Linked DNA regions of Homo sapiens: region 1 is linked to region 2. Evidence: promoter capture Hi-C in human tissues and cell types (Jung and others, 2019). All regions are on one chromosome and are shown on one strand. Each heading gives the region's core, a stretch centred on a gene start or on the middle of the fragment in contact. The rest is flanking DNA. Distances are from core to core; before and after follow the strand shown. Region 1 overlaps KLF7 (KLF transcription factor 7). Region 2 holds the start of CPO (carboxypeptidase O).

The links. The method cuts DNA at HindIII sites, captures the fragments that hold promoters and counts their contacts. A contact is called where the count stands out against the background at its distance.
Region 1: a fragment that was not itself captured here is called in contact with the fragment with the promoter of CPO in region 2 in 1 of the 25 tissues and cell types used here (thymus).

Annotation. Positions count from the first base shown.
Region 1 is chr2:207,084,586-207,087,285 of GRCh38, reverse strand. The region is part of intron 3 of KLF7 (KLF transcription factor 7); the gene reads left to right. Among named protein-coding and RNA genes, the nearest start is that of MIR2355, 24 kb to the left of the region's middle. The HindIII fragment of the contact is 3,891 bases long and covers 1-2,700 here.
Region 2 is chr2:206,937,999-206,940,906 of GRCh38, reverse strand. It overlaps CPO (carboxypeptidase O), which reads right to left and starts at 1,389. Exons shown (of 9, transcript NM_173077.3): 1 at 1,240-1,389. The coding sequence starts at 1,307. The HindIII fragment of the contact is 12,088 bases long and covers 1-2,908 here.

The DNA.
Region 1 (2,700 bases), core at 134-2,633, 150 kb before region 2:
ATCTTCATTCTCTAAGTACTAAATAAAGACCCCATGCGTCCTGGAGCCCAGAGATAACCTCCCACTCCAGGGCTGAGGAAGTGTACTTTATGCAGTTATTGTCTCCCATTCCCTTGGAACTCTGTTCTGCTACCCAAGAATACAAGTTATTATTACATTTCCATCCATTACCTAGAAGTCCTCCTGTATTTACATGAATCAGCAGCTGTCTTCTACAGAGTATGCTCCAGGAGAGTTTCTCCTTATTCCCCATCTTCCTTCTATTTCCATCTCAAGTTTCTCTGCTTTGTGCCTCTCTCACTCTGGCTAATAAAGAAGCCCTGCAGATGGTGACTCTCTGTCCATAGTCTTTTGAAGGAGAGTGTTCTGTTACATCAACTGGGACCAAGGTGAATTCTTTGTGAGTGGTCAGAGTGTGATGGTAGCGTGTACACACAAGTTGCCCAGCTCTGAAGGGTGTGGAGGCTGTTACTTGGAGATTGTGAGCATTATGGGTAGCCGTAATTATTGGATGTGGACAAAGAGTTCTTATGGGGAAATTGCCAAAGTTAGTATTCCACTCTTCAAATCAACTGACTTATTGATTTACAACCTTCCAGCAGTTGATGTATTTGGATTTAATCTGGTCTTTTGTATGATTTACGTGGAGAAATGTTCCAAACCGATTGGTTATTTCACTGAAAGAGATGTCAGAGATGGGTGATTTGGTTAGTCTTTTGCTTTGTTTTCTTCTTTAAAATACACTACAGTTTCTGGAGCTAGAAATTTGCTGAGCAGATGGTACAAATTCTGCAACATGGTATTTGTGGGAGATTGAGTAGATCAGCGTCCCGCGACACAGGCCAATAGTGCATTTTCGACAGCATCATAAATGAGAGTTTGTATTCCCATTAGTGTCTCATGACAGGCAGCACCTTGGCGTTTCAATTACGGTGACTGTGCTAAGAATAGCCAGGCCTGGGAGGCAACATGGGGAACTGGAGTGGTCCCAAAGCAGATGAAAGGAAAGCCTGGAGTGACCGGGAGTTGGCATTCCTTAGAAGATGTTTACCTTCAGAAACAGAGGGCATCTGTAGCCCTTGGCAGGACATGGCATCCTGTTGGTACCGCAGTATATATGAGTGCACCACCTCTTGTCTCTTAAAATTTGAACAATTACACTGCCCTATTTAGAAGTTAAGTAGGGTTTAGACTTCCTTTCCTTAAGCATGTACCAAGTCTAACGTATGCTTTTATTTTGCCTATAGGGTAGTTTTAAAAAATTCATGACGTTTTTGGTTTGGTTTTTTTTTTTTTTTTGGCCAACATTTAAAATCGTTAAATGTCACACAAAAAAGTTTGTATTTCTGGCTTTGTCTGGAAAAATCAGATCTGGCCACAGTGGGCTCACATTCCCATGTGGCTGTAATTGGATGTAGCTGAAGAGCAATCATTACCCATTTGCCATAGCCATGTGATGACTATGTTTCCACTGTTCCCATCACTCCCTGTGGCTCCACAACTCAAAGGCAAGCCATTGGTTGCCAAGTATTGTCCCGCTTTCTGTTGTTTCTTCTTACAAGAAGAGCTATACTTCTTTGTATCCATGCCTTATCGGAAGTGGAAACAGATAGCCCAAGAGTGCTGTGTTTCTTACACTTGACCCACGGCACATACTTTATCTGCCTGGCCTTGCAGACACTGGGTTTTGTGACTTCTGGCTTCATGTTTGGGTTAGGAAAGAAAGCACAGTAGTAGTGCCATTTCTTCACCATCTGACTGGACAGTGCAGCCCCCCTGAGTGACCAGTGGCTAGAGGGATAAGTGGTTTTTCAACCCACAGAGTTGGAGGCTGCTGATGGTGGTAGATAGGGCTCAGTTTCCATCAGTGGTAACATGCAGGCCCTCATTCTACCGACTGACTCAGTGCAGTTATAATCCAGGGAGACAGCTACTAGCATAGTACATTCCAGTTCTTGGGCAGTTTAGAGGGTGCATTTTGATCTTTATGTCAGCCCACTTATAAGTGGTAAGAAATACCAGCCCGTATCTTAGCCTCTTGGTCACCTAGGAGATTGCTGTTGACTTAATCCCTATGTGACGTTAGTGTGCCTTTTTTTTTTTTTTTTTTTTTTTTTTTTTCATTTGAGACAGTCTGGCTTTGTTGCCCAGGCTGGAGTGCAGTGGTGCGATCTCGGCTCACTGCAACCTCTGCCTCCGGGGTTCAGGCGATTCTCCTGCCTCAGCCTCCTAAGAAGCTGGGATTACAGGTACCTGCCACCATGCCTGGCTAATTTTGTAGTTTTAGTAAAGACAGAGTTTTGCCATGTTGGTCAGGCTGGTCTTGAACTCCTGACCTCAAGTGATCCACCCACCTCAGCCTCCCAAAGTGCTGGGATTACAGGCGCGAGCCACGACGCCTGGCCTAGTGTGCCTTTTTCATAAACGAGAGAAATGACTGTGGGGTTGACTAGTTCTCCATTATGTACAAATTTCAGTAATTAAGGACCTTCTTATTTAAGGTCACCTGGCTGCTGTAAAGTTATAAATACCCTCTAGGGGTATATTACTCTTAAAATTATTTGATTCTGCACTTCTAGATGCCAAGTTTATCTATTACCTTTTACTATTCCTATGTGGAATTCAGTAAGTATAAATTAATAAGTATAAGTTAATCATGACTAAGTACCTTGCTGGGGTATTGAATTTAAATAAAAACCT
Region 2 (2,908 bases), core at 140-2,639:
TCACAGAGATCCTGGACTCTGTAAGTATCTGAAATTGAACTGAAGATAAGGAACAAGCTGAGGTCACACAATTATTGTGGGACAAAAATTGGAGTGGGTTTCTATGTTATGTGAGAGCAAGTTCATTGCAAGATTTCTTTAACCATGAAGCAAAAGAGGAAATACCAATTATAACCACATATACTTCATGAGATATGCTAAATGAGCAAAATAATGATTTGCATATGAACAAGGGAAAAACACACTTTATATGGAAACTATACACACACACATACACACACACAGATTTCAATAGAATGTATTTAGAGAACTTATGATTCATTAAGAGTAGGGAGAGACCACAAAAATGGGCAAATGACATTAATGGGCAATTTATAAAATGATAAAATTAGTAATAAAATATTTACTCTTATAAATCAACAAAATACAAAGGAAGTCAACAATGTGTATTTTTTACTTGTCAATTTGCCAAACACTTAAAAAGTGCTTTCATACACTGTTATTGGAAGTGTAGACTGATGTAATCTTTCTAGAGGGTAATTGGGCAATGTGTAGCAAGATCCTTACATTTTCCTCAGTTACTGACCCAGTAATTCCACTTCTTAGAGAAATAATTAAAGATTTGCAAAAAGCAAAAAAAATTATGTAGCTGGTTGCTCATCACAGCATTATTTGTAAAAATGAAAAAGCAGGAATTGACTAAATGACAGAATATTATTAGCAATTTCAACTGTTTTAAATAAATTGCTAATGCCATAGGAAAATTTCTGTAATACAATTTAAGTGAAATATTTCAGAAATAGTGCTGCATACATAATCAGGTAGCTATCTGAAAACATTAATAGTACTTATCTCTAGGTGAAATTATTTGGTCATTTTAACATTTTTCTTAATAATTAGGATAATGTGATTTACCAAATGAGATACTATGAAAATGAAGGATATAGAATTTGTATTACAATTTTCTTTTTCCAATCACAAAACATGACATGTCTATTTGTATATCTCATGCATTGTGTTAGGAAATGTTTGCTAGATATTTATTCATTTATTCAAGGATTATTAGAGGATTATGATTATTCAGTGATAAATTTCAGTGGTCTTTATTATTCTCATCTCATGGTGGTATATATGAGTAGCAAGGAAGGAGAAGCCAGCTGCATTGGTCTTAAAAAGAAACCATTCAATTTAGACAATCTAAATTATAATAATCAGTTCCTCTTCCCACTTTACACTCACCTATCATATCCCAGCCCTCCAGGAACCAGCATCCCCAAAAGATAAAGGGTTTCAAGCAGAGGCTTCATTCTGCCACACAGTAAGTTAGAAAATTCTGGGCCTCTCTGGCAGTGGATCAAGTGTCCTTGAGAATGAATGCATCAAGACTGTGGCTCCCACAATCAAGATGAGATAAATCAGTTAGTGGATGTCTCAGCAGAAAGTCACGGGCAATTGCTTTATTAACTCTCTCATGTCCTCAAACACCTTTTCCAGTGTGGGAAATGCTGTACCATTTGATATTTCATTTCTTCTCTAAAACCAAATTTACGTGAGCTCTCAACTTCACCAGATCCTGAAATAAATTTCCTCCCTATGTAAAGTCACCTTGGAGTATTTCTAGGAACCCCCATCACTCGTGCTCAGGAGCAATCATTCCTGCTCTTCCCCTCACACAGGTTGAATGGGAATAGTAGGCTAGTCTTTGTGAATCATGAGCCTGTTCATGAGACCAGAAAGAACACTCTGCTCTGGTCAAAATGGACATGGTCATTATTCAGAATCTCCACTTCCTCCTTCAATCTAAGGCTTTGATTGGGGTCAAATGCCTTCTCTTTTTCTGATGAACCACATCACCAGCTTCTTAAACAAACCCAGATCTCTTCAAATCTGAGCAGTGAAGACAGTTTCAATCCTTTCCCATGTGGATTTTACCCCACGCCCCTCTTACATGAAGGACTCTGTCAGATACTCCGCCATGTTTTCAGACATAGCCAAGTTATGCTTGAATCTCATTGACCAGTAAAATTAAAGACTCATGTTAAGACCATTGCTAATAGTCTAACTGAGCAAGGCAAACTTTAGCGCAGAGCAGGTAGAGTATTTAAATGGAGTCCTTGGCATTTAGGGACCCAGTTTAAATCTTCTGCCCTGTATTCATGTATTCATTCTACAAAAATCTCATGAGTACCACTGTATACCAGACACTATGCTAGATACTTAAGATACAAGGGTGAACAAGGCAGAGTCCCTTCTTTTATGGAACTCACAGTAGAGTTGAGAGAAAAATAAACGAGTATACAAACAAATGTTACAGTTTCAAGTAAAGAGAATGCAGTTAAAAAACTAGAGGAGATAAGCGCTTCCATGCTGTCTCCAGGCATGCCATCCACCCAGTCCCTCCATGTGTTTAGCAACCCAGAGGCTCTCCAAACTCTGTTCCCTTGTGTTTTTATGAAGACTTCATTACATAGGTATGATTGATCATATCATTGGTCATTGGTGATTAAATAAATCTCCAGTCCCTCTTTCCTCCCCAGAGATGGGAGGGGATTACTGAATAACATGGCTGATTCTCCTGGCAACCAGCCGCTATCCTTAGAAACTTTCCAAAAGTTACCTGTTCACTTAAACTTAGACATAGTCAAAAGGGACGTCATGAATAACAAAAATGGCCCTTTCACCTTTATTGATCTTATCACTGAGGAAATTCCAAGGGTTTTAGGAGCTCTGTGTCAGGAACCAGGGACAAAGACAAAATATGTATTTCCTATTGTATCACAATATCACGATGGTGTTTAAAGCCACTGGGCTAGAGGAGTTCATCTAGGGTGTGGGTATAGACAGAGAAAGACAAAGACTGAGACCTGGGCTGACCTAACATTTAGAGGACTTGGTAGAAGAGAAGAAT